Linked DNA regions of Homo sapiens: all the other regions are linked to region 1. The links are contacts of gene promoters, found by promoter capture Hi-C in blood cells and fetal thymus (Javierre and others, 2016). All regions are on one chromosome and are shown on one strand. The core of a region is centred on a gene start or on the middle of the fragment in contact, and the rest is flanking DNA. Distances in the headings are between cores, read along the strand shown. Region 1 holds the start of PARN (poly(A)-specific ribonuclease). Region 2 holds the start of VPS35L (VPS35 endosomal protein sorting factor like). Region 3 holds the start of COQ7 (coenzyme Q7, hydroxylase). Region 4 overlaps SMG1 (SMG1 nonsense mediated mRNA decay associated PI3K related kinase). Region 5 holds the start of DEXI (Dexi homolog).

The links. The method cuts DNA at HindIII sites, captures the fragments that hold promoters and counts their contacts. A CHiCAGO score of 5 or more calls a contact.
Region 2: the fragment with the promoter of VPS35L here is called in contact with the fragment with the promoter of PARN in region 1 in 2 of 17 cell types (total CD4 T cells and fetal thymus); the score reaches 5.6 in total CD4 T cells.
Region 3: a contact is called between the fragment with the promoter of COQ7 here and the fragment with the promoter of PARN in region 1, in 1 of 17 cell types (neutrophils). The highest score is 6.9, in neutrophils.
Region 4: a contact is called between a fragment that was not itself captured here and the fragment with the promoter of PARN in region 1, in 1 of 17 cell types (monocytes). The highest score is 5.6, in monocytes.
Region 5: the fragment with the promoter of DEXI here is called in contact with the fragment with the promoter of PARN in region 1 in 3 of 17 cell types (non-activated CD4 T cells, naive CD4 T cells and naive CD8 T cells); the score reaches 7.2 in non-activated CD4 T cells.

Annotation. Positions count from the first base shown.
Region 1 is chr16:14,628,870-14,631,573 of GRCh38, reverse strand. PARN (poly(A)-specific ribonuclease) reads left to right here and starts at 1,314. Exons shown (of 24, transcript NM_002582.4): 1 at 1,314-1,467; 2 at 1,900-1,977. The coding sequence starts at 1,449. RefSeq lists enhancers at 778-1,300, 1,301-1,822, 1,823-2,346. The HindIII fragment of the contact is 4,468 bases long and covers 1-2,704 here.
Region 2 is chr16:19,554,370-19,557,073 of GRCh38, reverse strand. VPS35L (VPS35 endosomal protein sorting factor like) reads right to left here and starts at 1,371. Exons shown (of 31, transcript NM_020314.7): 1 at 1,328-1,371. The coding sequence starts at 1,344. RefSeq lists enhancers at 687-916, 775-1,737, 1,297-1,776. The HindIII fragment of the contact is 7,423 bases long and covers 590-2,704 here.
Region 3 is chr16:19,066,236-19,068,939 of GRCh38, reverse strand. COQ7 (coenzyme Q7, hydroxylase) reads right to left here and starts at 1,326. Exons shown (of 6, transcript NM_016138.5): 1 at 1,203-1,326. The coding sequence starts at 1,275. It overlaps COQ7-DT (COQ7 divergent transcript), which reads left to right and starts at 1,249. Exons shown (of 3, transcript NR_119381.1): 1 at 1,249-1,359. RefSeq lists an enhancer at 963-1,112 and a silencer at 1,143-1,302. The HindIII fragment of the contact is 11,366 bases long and covers 1-2,704 here.
Region 4 is chr16:18,804,481-18,807,184 of GRCh38, reverse strand. SMG1 (SMG1 nonsense mediated mRNA decay associated PI3K related kinase) reads left to right here. Exons shown (of 63, transcript NM_015092.5): 63 at 1-2,325. Among named protein-coding and RNA genes, the nearest start is that of ARL6IP1, 4.3 kb to the right of the region's middle. The HindIII fragment of the contact is 779 bases long and covers 919-1,697 here.
Region 5 is chr16:10,941,136-10,943,839 of GRCh38, reverse strand. DEXI (Dexi homolog) reads left to right here and starts at 1,372. Exons shown (of 2, transcript NM_014015.4): 1 at 1,372-2,271. The coding sequence starts at 1,835. The coding sequence ends at 2,122. It also overlaps a transcript of CIITA not described here. RefSeq lists a silencer at 1,233-1,782. The HindIII fragment of the contact is 2,950 bases long and covers 1-2,452 here.

The DNA.
Region 1 (2,704 bases), core at 65-2,564:
GCTGGTCTCGAGCTCCTGGCCTCAAGCAATCCGCCTGCCTCGGCCTCCCAAAGTGCCAGGATCACAGGCGTGAGCCATCGCATCCGGCACTAACCAACTTTTCATAGTTGGCTTTTGTGAAAGACCAACCTGAATGTATTCATTCAACCCATGCTTATTGAGTGTCTACTACGTGTCAGCCCAGTGCTAGGCATTGGAGAACAGCAACCCCAAACCAACATACAATTCCATTAGGGCCGGGCCTCATATGTTGCACTCGACATAGTATTCCCAGAGGCTAATGCAGTAGCTAAGGGTCTCAGCTTTGCTTTCCGTGATCACCTAAGTAACAACCCCTATTATTCTTTTAATTTAATTTAATTTTTTTTTTGAAAACAAGTCTCGTTCTGTCACCCAGGCTGGAGTGCAGTGGCGTGATCTCGGTTCACAGCAACCTCCGCCTCCCAGGTTCAAGAGATTCTCCTGCCTCAGCTTCCCGAATAGCTGGGATTACAGGCGCGCACCACTGCACCCGGCTAATTTTTTGTATTTTTAATAGAGACAGGGTTTCACCATGTTGGCCAGGCTGCTCTTGAACTTCTGACCTCAGGTAATCCGCCCGCTTCTGCCTCCCAAATCGCTAGGATTACAGGCATGAGTCACCAAGCCCAGCCAATTTTTATATTTTTAGTAGAGACAGGGTTTCACTATGTTGGCCAGGCTGGTCTCGAACTCCTGATCTCGTGATCCGCCCGCCTCGGCCTTCCAAAGTGCTGGGATTACAGGCATAAGCCACCGGGTCCGGCCTAATTTTATTTTTTTAAGAGACAGGTCTCACTATGCTGTCCAGGCTGGTCTCGAACTCTTCAGTTCAACGGATCCTCCCGCCTCGGGTTCCCAAAGTGTTAGGCTTACAGGCGTGAGCCACCGCACCCGGATCCCATTATTCTCTATTACATCGCCCCGCTCTTTTTCTTAATAGCGATTTTCATGTGTTACCAAATGGCAAGTTTCACTCCTGCCTGAATTTCCCCTTACCCCAAGTTTAAGCTACAATGGGGCAGGGAGCACGTCTTCCTGTTCATCACTGTATCTCCACCCCTGTAAGAGTGGCTAGCATATCACAGAAACCCAGTCAGTATTTCCTGGTCGACTGGATGTCGAGACATGCACATTTTTTCTACTGAAGTGAAAGCCCGCACAAATTAGGCCACGCCTTGGGGACTTCGATAGCCACGCCCCTCCCCTGTCCCTATAAGGAGGGAAAGGAGCCCAGCCTTGGCCCCGCCCCCGCCGCCGCGCAGGCGCTGACGCAAGCGCAGCAGGCGCGCGCTGTTTCCGGAAGTCGCGGCCGGCGTCACCGCTGCGGCTGCCTCAGCTACTGCCGCAGTCGCCGCGGAATTCGGCGAGTAGAACCGCTGAGGCGGGCGCGGGCCCGGGTGGGGCCAAGGTTCCGGCCACTCTGCAGAATGGAGATAATCAGGAGCAGTGCGTGTCCGCCGTACACCTCCCCGCCTCCCCACACCCGGCTGCCCCTGGCCTGCTAGGCCGAGACCATGGCCGGCGTGTTTGGCTGGGCCTGGGGCTGAGGCAGCCCCTCAGGGCTTTTCCCTCCTTAAGCCGGTGCGCCTCTTGGGGTCTTTTCCGGCTGCGGACCGTGCACCCTAGGAGCCTTGTACTTACTCCTCCAACCCCGGCACCATCCGGGGCCTTGTCCTTCTCCGGGCCGGGCACCCCCCGGGGCTTGTCCCCCCTGACCCATGCACCCCTCGAGGACTTGATTCCCCTCGCCCCGGTGCACACCTCCGGGACTTTTCCCCTTCCGGCTCTCAGCCTCGGGAGCTCCTCGGCCCTCCTTCCCTCTCCCCTTAGCAGGAATTCAGGCCACTGGTTCTGAGCCTCTTTTCGGTTTCTCCGCAGATTTTAAGAGTAATCTTCACAAAGTGTACCAGGCCATAGAGGAGGCCGACTTCTTCGCCATCGATGGGGAGTTTTCAGGTATCCCTCCCTTGCAAGCTCAGGCTAGCACTTTGCAGTGCATAGCCAAGGCTCCTTCAATCCCCCAGCCCCCAACTTCTTATGCTTGGTGGTGGCCTCTTGCTGTTAGTAGCCTTGGGCGGGTTTCACAGGTCTCAGTGTTACCCTTTAAACGTTTCAAAAGCACGAAAGAAATGAAGATACGCCGTAGGTTTGTGATTGGACTCAGGATCTCAGATAGAGATGATGGTTTTGATGCTGCTTAAAACAGTGCGGCGTGTACATTGCAGAGAGCTTGAGGATTAGGGTCAGACTGTTTTTTTTCTTGATTGTAAAATAGGTATAACATGAAATTTGCCATTTTAAGTGGCTTTACAGTTAAGTGGCATTAAGTACATTCACATTGCTGTGCAAACATCACCATCCATCTCTAGGACTTCTTCATCTTCACAGTCTGAAACTCTTTACACATTAAACTCCCCATTTCTCCTTTCGCCCAGCCTTTAGCAACCGCCATTTGTCTCTGAATTTGACTGCCCTTAACATCTCATATAAGTGGAATCTTACAATATTTGCCCTTTTGTGACCGGCTAGGGTCAGGTTTTTGCAGATAAATGAGATATTTCTTTATGCATTAGTGGACGTGTTCATTGCCTGCCTCAACAGGTGTGTATACAGGAAATACTTCACTGACACTTAAAGTTGCAAATTTTTTTTCCCCTTTTTTAGGGGGAGCAAAGACTAGTTT
Region 2 (2,704 bases), core at 122-2,621, 4.9 Mb before region 1:
TCCAGCTTCCGCCTCCCAGGTTCAAGCGACTCTCCTGCCTCACCCTCCCAAGTAGCTGGGATTACAGGTGCGTGCCACCACTAATTTAGCCCAGCTAATTTTTGTATTTTTAGTAGAGATTAGGTTTCGCCATGTTGGCCAGGCTGGTCTCGAACCCCTGACCTCAGGTGATCCGCCAGCCTCGGCCTCCCAAAGTGCTGGGATTACAGGCGTGAGCCACCATACCCAGCCAGCATGACTATTAACTGAAAAAAAAAAAAAAACCTCAGGGTGTGGAAGTGCTCAGAGGCATTCAATGCTGATGTAGCGTGTCAAGGAAGCAGTCTCTTAAGTGTTGGGCAAATGAAAGGAATAAGACAAAATGAAGTGTTTATCAAGCTCAAAAGCAGAAGGTTGTACCTGATTATTTCTAAGGTCTTTCATTTGCTCATTTAATCTAAGCTACTTCACATCATTTGAAGAGAAAGTAAATTATCTCGCTTTCTGAGATGCAGGAGAGATTCCCCGTCCCCAAATCCCACTATCATCAACAACACAACTTCCTCAAGTTCTTCACTCACACACATACCACCTGCTGAACCCTGAAGCTTCAGTCACTCATTCCTAGCTACTCCAACCACAAGGGACCTACGGGCCTGCCAACCAGGCACACGCCACGCCCTCCCTATGGTGGACTCCTATTCATCCTCCAAGACCCAATTTAACTCCTCCTCTCTGAAGCCTTCCCCTAGCCCCCTGGTGGGGATAATCACTCCCTTCTTGGTGCCTCATCCGAATGCCTTCTTTAGACATCCCTCTACTGTGCGTCTGCCCCATTATACTGTCAGCTCCTTGAGGCCAAGGAATAAGTCTGAGGGCTGTGCCTAGGATAGGATGAATGGCGGCCATTTTACAGATGAGAAAAGCAAGTCTCCAGGTGAACAGAGGAGCTGAGGAAACTGACCAACAGCCAGATCTCCCGACTCGTCCAGACTTTAAAAGCTGAGTCCACCATTACCCTCATCCAGCGACCCCAGAACCCGCGCCAACTTCTGGGGACGCGGAAGCCTGGAAACTCAAGTTTTCTTTAGGGAATGAATGGACAGGGGCCCGTGGAAGGCGCAGAGAGGCAGCAGACGGGGAGAGAACCAAGAACCCGCCAGTCTGGCTTCAGATTGCTCCGCTGGACCGCGGTAGCGGCCAGGGATTCTACGGTCAAGACAACTTGGGGGTGGCCGGTCGACCACCAGAACCCGACAGAGAGGAATTCACACTCTCAGACCCAGGCCGACCCCATCACAAGTAAGGACAGCCCCTCTCCAAAGCCCACCCGCCGCTGCTTCCTTACCAAGGAAAGACGGCCATCTTCCCAGTCACATGACCGCTTGTTCTGGGGCCGTCTGCTCGGCTTCCCATCCTTACCCCGCCACTCCCCGCACCCCTCGGCCGCCATGTTTGTGAAGGGCAGCTGGCCGCCCCGCAGCGGCCGCACAGCACCTTCTGCAGACGCCATGCTTGTGAGGGGCAGGCGACGCTCCGCACAGCACAGGCTTCATTTTCAGCTGACGCCATGCTTGTGAGGGGCAGCTCCCCGCTCCGGACAGCCCGGGTTACAACTCCCGCCGGCGCCATGCTTCGGAGGAGCAACGTCGGCCACGGCCAGAGTGCCGTAGTTTCTATGAGTCATGATTGTAAAGGGCAGCTGTCTACAGTGCCGGGTGGTCCCGCCTGCGGGCGTCATGATGGTAAAGGGCATGACTGCTGCTTAGCTCACCTGCGTCCTCTAGGGGCAGAAAGGACTCCAGAAGGCGGCGGAGCGAAGACGCAAACTGAGGTTCAGCCAGTACCTGGTTTTGCGGCTAATACGCTGTTTGGCGTGGGACAGCCATGCCCCCTCTAGGCCGCTGCTTTACCCACTGCTTTGCGGGCGGTTTTAGACACTTGCAGAATGCCCTTCCCACGACTAGCAACCGAGGGCTGCCCTAGATCTAATATGATTGACTACAGCTAATGCACGTGGGGAAATTAGGGTTCGCATTTCGTCCAACTTGGCAAAGCAGTGTTTCTAGGAAGGTGGATATCCATTTCGACCACAGAACGTTTTTAAAAATTATTTTAGGCCGGGAGCGGTGGCTCAGGCCTATGATCCCAGAACTTCGGGAGGCCGAGGTGGGTGGTTCACCTGATGTCAGGAGTTCGGGACCAGCCTGGCCAACATGGTGAAACCCCGTCTCTACTAAAAAATACAAAAACTAGTTGGGTATGGTGGCGGGCGCCTGTAATCCCAGCTACTCGGGAGGCTGAGGCAGGAGAATTGCTCCAACCCGGGAGGATGAGGTTGCAGTGAGCCGAGATTGCGCCATTGCACTCCAGCCTGGGCTACAAGAGCGAAACTCCATCTCAAAAAAAAATTTTTTTTTTAATTATTACTTTTATAACTTACTTAGATATCCATTATGGTCCCTTAGAGAGAAAGCATTCGATGTTTTTATAACTCTTACTTTTCATTCGGGGGTGGTGGTCTGTGGTTGTTCATGAGATGGTGACCTATGACAGGGAAAAGGATCATCTCCAGAACGGGCCCTCCAGTGTTCAGCTCAGTATGAGTAGGAAAGTATATCCACTCGTACCTGCTATTCCCAACACTGGAAGTGAACAAGGGTTAAAGGGTGGCCACGGGAAAGCAAGGAGCTCTTCCCATACAGCCATGCATGTTATCACATGC
Region 3 (2,704 bases), core at 77-2,576, 4.4 Mb before region 1:
CAGTATTTAATACAATTTCATAACTTTTTAATTTGTTTGTTTTTTTTTAATGATTACTCACCCATTTGTGGCAAGTGGCACTGGCTTCCCATTCACCATAAGGATTTTGTTTCAAGGAAATTAATTTAATTTTTAAATGGGACATAGCTATACAAAAAAACACATCTAGTAATCAAAAGTTCAAGCAGTACTGCCATTAGGCAAAAATCCCGAAAGTGGTACACGGTAATTTAACGTTGAGAAAACGACTTCATGAAATTTCTTTTTTTTTTTTTTTTTTGCGCGGGGGAGACAAAGTCTCGCTCTGACGCCCAGGTTGCAGTGCAGTGGTGCAATCTCGCCTCAAAGCAATCTCTGCCTCCCGGGTTCAAGCGATTCTCCTGTCTCAGCCTCCTGAGTAGCTGGGATTACAGGCACCTGCCATCACGCCTGGCAAATTTTTGTATTTTTAGTAGAGGCGGGGTTTCACCATGTTGGCCAGGCTGGTCTCAAACTCCTGACCTCAGGGGATCCTCCAGCCTCGGCCTCCCAAAGTGCTGAGATTATAGGCCGGAGCCACCGCGCCCGGGCTCATGACAATTTTCTAAGGCAGCACAGATGAAACAAGGAAAGCAGGAACCAGGGTCCAAAACCATGTCTCTCTACTCTAAATTCGATGCTCCTTCCACTACACTGATGGCTTTCACAGTTTACAGTGCATGCAAATCACCTAAAGGTCCTGTTCACAGATCACAGATACCGACCAAGTAGGTCGGGGTGGGGCCCGAGAATCTGTATTTCTAGCGAGCGCCCAGAAGTAGCGGAGGCTGCTGGTCGTCGGGCTACCCTTTGCCTGGCAAGGCCCTGGGCAAAGACTACAAAGAGAGAGACTCCCGGAGACGCTGAATTTTCAGTGTCGCCAACTGTCCTCGACTCGGAACGCTGGCCGCACCTGCCGTGACATCACTGCACAGGGGTGCAATTGCGTCACTCCCCAGGCGTCACTGCCGAAACAACCCCTGTCCTCCTGTCACTCTCGCCGCTAACTACAGACCCCGCCCCGCCCGCCAGCGCCCCGGAGGCCGAAGTCACGCAGTCGCGCTCCGTCGCAGGCCTGTGACGTTACGAACCTCTCCCCCGTGACCTCTTCGACCCAAACCTCAAGCGAAAATTCCCTAGCTCGCTAGACCGGCGCAGGACTGTGACTGCGCGCCTCCTTTTACCTGAGAGGGACCGCCGGGCCCCCGGGCGCAGCCGCCAAAGGCGGGGAGCCGCCGCCGCCCCGGCGCAACTCATTGCCGGAACTAAAAAAAGCAACCACTTCGTTGAACGGAACTGGCCAATAGTGCCCTTGGCTCGGACTGATGACGCACAGCAGACGTAAGGAAGGCTCAGCTCGCCCGCGCACCGGTGGGAACGCCCCCTAGCTCTGCGCTAGGGGTTAGATTGGTTAGATACGACAAATAAAAAGATTTTATTGGGTGGGGTCACTGTCAATCACTCGGAAGACCAAGGCCAAGGCGCCTTGGGTTGCCAGGGAGATGAAAATGCTAAATTGCTGTTTAGAAAGATCAGGACAAGGTTATGATTTCTCACCCAAGTTCCTGGGGAAAAGGATCATGAGGGAATTACTTATTAACAAGGCACGGTATTTCCTGCTTTACCTACGTGGAAGGAGATTTTTTTTTTTATTTGTATCCTACATCTACTTTAAAATAGTAAGCCTGGGCAACATAGCGAGACCCCGCCTCTACAAATAATTTTAAAAATTAGCCGGGTCTGGTGGAGCACACCTGTAGTCCCAGCTACTCGGGAGGCTGAGGTGGGGGGATAGCTTGAGCCCGGTAGCTCGAGGCTGCAGTCAGCCGTGATTCTGCCACTGCACTCTAGCCTGGGCCCTGTCTGAAAAATAAATAAATAAATAAAATTATATGTATATCTAAATTACATGCACCACATGGTTAATGGTGTTATATAGTGTTATCTCTATTGGTGGGCTGAAAGCCAACTTTAAACTTCTTCCCGGTCTTTTCTCTATTTTCAGAAACAGAGAACATGTTTTATCCTTGGTATCCACCTTAATGTACTGTGTGCATGTATGCATGTATATTTGTGCAAATTGGAATTTTTTGAGAAGGGAGGGGAAATTTAGCAACATACTTTAAAAAGATCATATAATACAGCAGTCTTACTTTTAGGAATCTACTCAACGAAATAATTTTTAAATGAGTAATGTACATGAGGGCAAAAATCAAAGATGCGTGTCTGCAAGGATATACAACGTTTAATATTGGCAACATCAGGGGGCTGGAACTGGGAGAAGGGAGCTTTCACTTTCTACTTTACACCCTTGGATTATTTATATACTTTATCCAAGTTTACCATAAAATATTTTAAGATGGAATACAATTGTAAAATTATTGAATTCAAGTTTTTAGTTTTTATATCACTCTAGTGTTCAAATTGACACACCAAAATAATTTAAAATTATGATGAACCCAAATACTACTTAGTGAGGATGTTGTAGCACTCTCATGTAAAACTACTGAGTGTCTGAATCTGGCGCTCAAAAGCCTTAAAATGTTCAAAACCTTTGCTGTAATACCACTTCTAGGTCTCTGTTTCCTTTTTGTTTTGTTTTTTGTTTTTGTTCTTTTTAAATGGAGTTTCACTCTGTCGCACAGGCTGGATTGCAGTGGGGAGACCTTGGCTCACTGGAACCTCT
Region 4 (2,704 bases), core at 59-2,558, 4.2 Mb before region 1:
ATAGGTGAATTTTATTGCCTGTGTTTTCAGGCTTCAGAGGTACCTGGCACCTTACTCAAGCAAAAACAAAAAACAGCTTTACTTCAAAAGCATGTGCCTCTGGTAAATTATCCATCACTTTTGTTTTAAAGTGGTCCCTCCAAGAATAATGTGGCATACACAGTGGGTTTGGTTGTAAGGCAGATGTAATAGATGACTTCAAAAGCCTGCTCCTTACTGCACTCTGGACAAGGCCCTGGTCTGTATAGTTTGGCTTCCTCTGTTAAGTCATTCTACAAGGTGACTTGCCATTTGAACTTTCGTAAGAGACCTCAGCAGTTAGACTGAGAAAAGTTAGAGTGCTGTAGTTATGAAGTCATACATTTTTGATAAAATACCTGTGGAAAACCAGGGATCCTCTCCTGTTTCTCTCTCTTGCCTCCCCCTTTCCCTCCATTCCTCTGTCGCCTCCCCCTCTCCTCCACTTTCTTTAAGAATCAGGGGGTACAGAATAACCTACAAACAACCTCTTCAAAGTACCCTTGGAAATTGAAGTTCAATCTTAAGTTTTTTGCTGTCTTTAATTTACTAGAATTGCCTAATTTTTAGTTGATTTCTCTACAGAGCTTAGCTTGTGTAGTTATTTCTCTTTTACTGTTGCTTTGGTGTGTCTTGAAGTTTGATTGATTATTTTTGGTCATTGAGTTCTTAGTGTAGTTTGCTAGATGATTATTAAGATTCTTTTGTGTCTGACACTTGTGGTGAGTTGCTTTTGAAATCTGTTGAGATTTCCATGTGAGAACTGATAATCAGGCTCTTGATCTGCTTCCCTAAATTACTTTTTTAGAGCCCAAACCCCAGGTTTAGGGTGAGGGTTTGTAATACAAAGAAACACTTCCATCACTTCTGCCCTTAACCCTTGCCTCTATTACCTAAGCTTAGTAAGTAGTTTTCTTAATATTGTCCAATGTTTGGTGTTATCTGCATTGTTTTTTGTTTTTTTAATTGTGGTTGTTCTGACGTGTGAAATTTAAGGAAAGAGCCATTTTTTAAAAATGCCGAGCAGGGCAATGCAAGTACAGCCAAATATTAGACTTGATGTGCAATCTTCGGTCCTTTTTAATCTGGGGTATTATAGGCAGTACTTTAAATTGCAAAGTCTTCCGGGCCTATTTTCCTCTACATTTTTGTAATTAACTCTGGGGGCTTACTTGTTTTGGCAGTACTGAAATCAAAGGAGCTGGTTCTTCTTTTCTCCCAATTATTTTCATATGAAAGCACCTACAATTAGCCTGTTAGTCCTATTCAGATACATCAAATATCAGTGAATGCTTTACTATTCGCACATTTAAGCATCTTTGTTTTACATAAAATTAGAGTATGAAAACCAGTGTTCAATTTTTTATCTTGTTGAGCTTGTAAAATGCCAGCAATTTAAAACTAGGACTTTTCCCCCCATAAGCCAAGGAGGTAGAATTACTAATACAAGGGTTAAAGAAGGTAGATTTTGTTTTCAATATTTGGGTAATATTAGAAAGATTCTTCCCACAGGGAAGAACTAGCAAGTGTCCCAATTTTTTCCAAACGTTGGGGAGGGGAAAATTCACTGTATCATGAAACCCTAAGGGTTTGTTGCACTTCCTGCTTTTTAGGCCTGGATAACAGTATCACCATCCTTATTTACAGAAGGGTAAAACTGACTCTTAATGAGAAAAGCTTTATAAGTTCAAGGGCTGTAAAATATGAACTACTTAGGGTCGTTTGCCTTCCATGGGAACTTGGCTAGACTTAGAAAAAGCTGTTTGTTGTGCTAATGTAAAAGTGTCATACAATTTAGAAGATTTTTGAAGATGGTAAACTTAGAAGAATTCTATGTTCTGAAATGCACACTTTTAGAATGTTTTTCTTTGAAAACAGGCTAATAGTTTTTTCTTTTTTTGACAAAGTTTCAGCTCCTCTTTAAAGTTATTGTGTCATTTTTCTGGTTTAAATTTCCCTTATATTTCCACCTGTAATGTCAGTGGCAACAACATCATACTTCACTTACTTGTTAATTTACTTTTTACCCTTATTCTAAGAGCAAGTTGAGTTGAACTGAATCTTCCTTGTCTTAGTAACAATGTATAAATAGTGGCTTTTCTGTACAAAAGGTTGTAATGCCTCCTGATGGATATAATTTTGTGATTGTATTTAAAAGTTGAATAAATCACACCAGCTTCCTGAAAATGTTCATAATGCATCTTTTGGAAAACAAATACATGCCTACTTTGTGCATATTTGCATTAACATGGCAAAGATTGTATGAAATACCTGTTTTTCAGAAAATAAAGGTTCAGTCTCAAAAGATACAGCATTTAAGTTCTGAATTTATTGGTCAAAATAGATTTTGGAAAACTTGAAACCTTTTGGAACCTGGGTAGCTTGAAAAAACAAAACGACAGGGTCTCCCTATGTTGCCCAGGCTGATCTCGAACTCCTGGGCTCAAGTTACACTCCCACTTCAGCCTCCCAAAGTGCTGGGATTACAAGCCTGAGCCACTAAGCCGAGCCAAGCCTAGTCTTTTTTTTCTGAATAGCACTAATACCTCAAAAAAGACCCCTAAATTCTCAGAAAAGTAACTATTTTATTCTCAAACATCTGTTGTATTTTTGAATAGCAGTAGAAATTCTACTTCAACGATAAAATTCTTTGTGTTAAGGCCCAATTTATAAAGCTTAATTTTGG
Region 5 (2,704 bases), core at 123-2,622, 3.7 Mb after region 1:
AGGATTCCTCTGGTCTTCAGCCAGAATCCATGCTATTTCCCAAAGTACCACGTTAAAATGAAAAAGGAAACACCCAACTTTCTGCATGAGCCAGAATATATCTAACTTCTACCCTGGATTAGAAGTGGTAAGTTCAGTGTGGGCAAGACTTCTCAAGTTTACCATCCATTCATTCATTCAGTCACTTCTACATATCAACCTTATTAAAGGTCCACTGTGTCCCATTAACTCTGCTCAAGAAAGAACTGGGCCAGAGGCCAATGTTCTCCCCAGTGCCTAGCACAAGGTTTGGCACATAGCAGGTGTTTAACAAATATTGGTAGAGTGCATGAATGAGTAAAGGTTTGTTTCACCTTCAGCAGTTGGAGAAATGGATAAGAGTGGAGAGTTAATGGTTTGTCCTGTAATTCATATAGAGTGGGGCAAGACAAAGTCATGGAGCAAAAAAGAACAGGATCTGGCCTCCAAAGAAACACACCCAGGCTCAGAAATGTAGGATCCCTGGGCTCGTATTTTTCATCTGTAAAAAGTACGCACATACATACTACACTGCCTTGTATACCTCCGATTAAGCGATGCATGTAAAATACTCAGCTCAGTGTGGCCTGAGATTTAAAGGTTTCTTGAACTGCTTTGGAAGGCTCTTTGGGCGAGATCATGTTTTCCTGAAAGACATGCAACGGTTACCCAAGAGCAGGGGAACCAGTGGGTGGGAGAGACTCACTTTTCTGTGTACTTCACGGTTGTTTGAATGTTTAGCCATGTGTATTATTGCTTTTAAACATGATTCACAAAGTAAAAAGAAACAAAAAGCATCCTTATGGTTGAAGATCTGAACTACCTCGGAATCTCTTTATTCAGGTGTTCCTTAACTCTAGGATGCAGGTTCCGTAGTGGGCGGACCTTCCAGCAACCAGAGTTTGGAGAAGCGAAGGGGACACTGGTGGATCTCCACCATGAAAATTGGCGCTTTGGGAATGTCCAAAATTTCCAGGGCAACCGTCCGTCGCCCCTCCCCGACCCCGCCTCCTTTTAAAGGAGAAACGGAGTCCCAAAGAGGCATGCAGCAAGGTGCAGCGGTAGCCCGGGTTTCCTTCGGCTTTTGCGGCCTTAGCATTATGTCTAGGTTTGAACTGTGTTCAGTCTCTTTTACCTCCCCCTATTCGATACGCAGAGCGAATTCGATTTGAGATCTGAGGGCAGACCCGAACCAGGAAAGCAACTCAGACGCTAGGGCCCCGAGGGGCGGAGCGAAGCGGTACCCGCCCCCTGGCGGCCGGAGCCAATCAGCGCGGGCGTTGAGCCGGCCAATTAGCGCGTGCAGGGGGCGGCCTGCCAATGAGCTCGGGGCCCCTCGGGAGGCGGAGCTCCGAGCGCCACCGGGAGGGCTACGCGGCGGCCGCAGCCATGGGTGCTGGGCCTGCGGGGGCGCGGGGGGTGCGCGAGGACCTGCGGGGCGGGGCGGGAGAGAAGGCTGCCGGGACCGGCCCTAGACACTGAGCCGCGGTGGGATCCCCACCGGCTCTGCGAGGCCCTGCGAGCGCCAGGGAGGCGCCACGAGGGAGCCGGGCAGCCGCGGGCCACTTCAGGGGGGCCCGCCTCGCCGCCCGGGCGGTCGAGAGATCCTTGGGGGCACATCTCGGGGTGCGGTGACCCGCCCGGCGCATTTCGGGGGTCGGGGCGCAATTGCCAGGGGACATCTGGAGCCCGGCCCTGCTTCTGTCGGGCTCCAGGGTACCCCTGGATGGCTGCGCTGTGCCCTCGCCGGCCGCCCGGGCGCCGCAGCGGCTGAGTTCGCCGGGATCGCCGGGCCGCCGCCCTTGCCACCCGCTGCATGCTCGGCGCCCGGGTCGCGGCCCACCTGGACGCACTGGGCCCCCTGGTCCCCTACGTGCCGCCGCCGCTGCTGCCCTCTATGTTCTACGTGGGCCTGTTCTTCGTCAATGTGCTGATCCTGTACTACGCCTTCCTCATGGAGTACATCGTCCTCAACGTGGGCCTCGTCTTCCTGCCCGAGGACATGGACCAGGCGCTCGTGGACCTCGGCGTGCTCTCCGACCCCGGCTCGGGCCTTTACGATGCTGACTCGGAGCTCGACGTCTTTGATGCGTACTTGGAGTAGGGTCTCGACTGCTGTTCCCCTCTTCCCTACACGATCCGCAACCCATGCCCTGGACCAGCCGCCCAGATCATGCCGCCGCAGCTGGTTGGGGGCACCATCTGGACGGGGATGGTTCCCCAGGAGGAGACCCTCCCCTGCCTCCGAGGCCTGTAAGTGCCCTCTCTGAACAGGATGAGGGCGGGTTGGGGCGCTAGCAAGGGAGAGGGAGGAATTCCCAGGCCGGATACACACCCCTCCCTCAGGCTTCTCCTCCGTTCACCTCCTCCAGGTCTAACTGGATGCCAGGAATGGCCAGACTCCTCTTAAGCCCTTCGTTTGGGCTGGAAAGCTTCCTCCAGCAAAGGGGACAGCTGGTGAAAAGGAAGGAGACCCCGAGACTAAGTTACATTTGGGGTAGCTCTGTGACTTACCCCCAAAGCTTATGGAAAAAGCCTTCGCTCCCAAATCCATTTGAGGCAGAGCTGTCAGCTCCTCCTCCAGTCCTCATCCTGGCTTGATGATGACCTTGGCTTTTGGGGGATTCTCGCTTGTCCTAGAAGGATAAAGATTTAGGGGTGTCAGAAGACACAGGGAGCCAGGCAC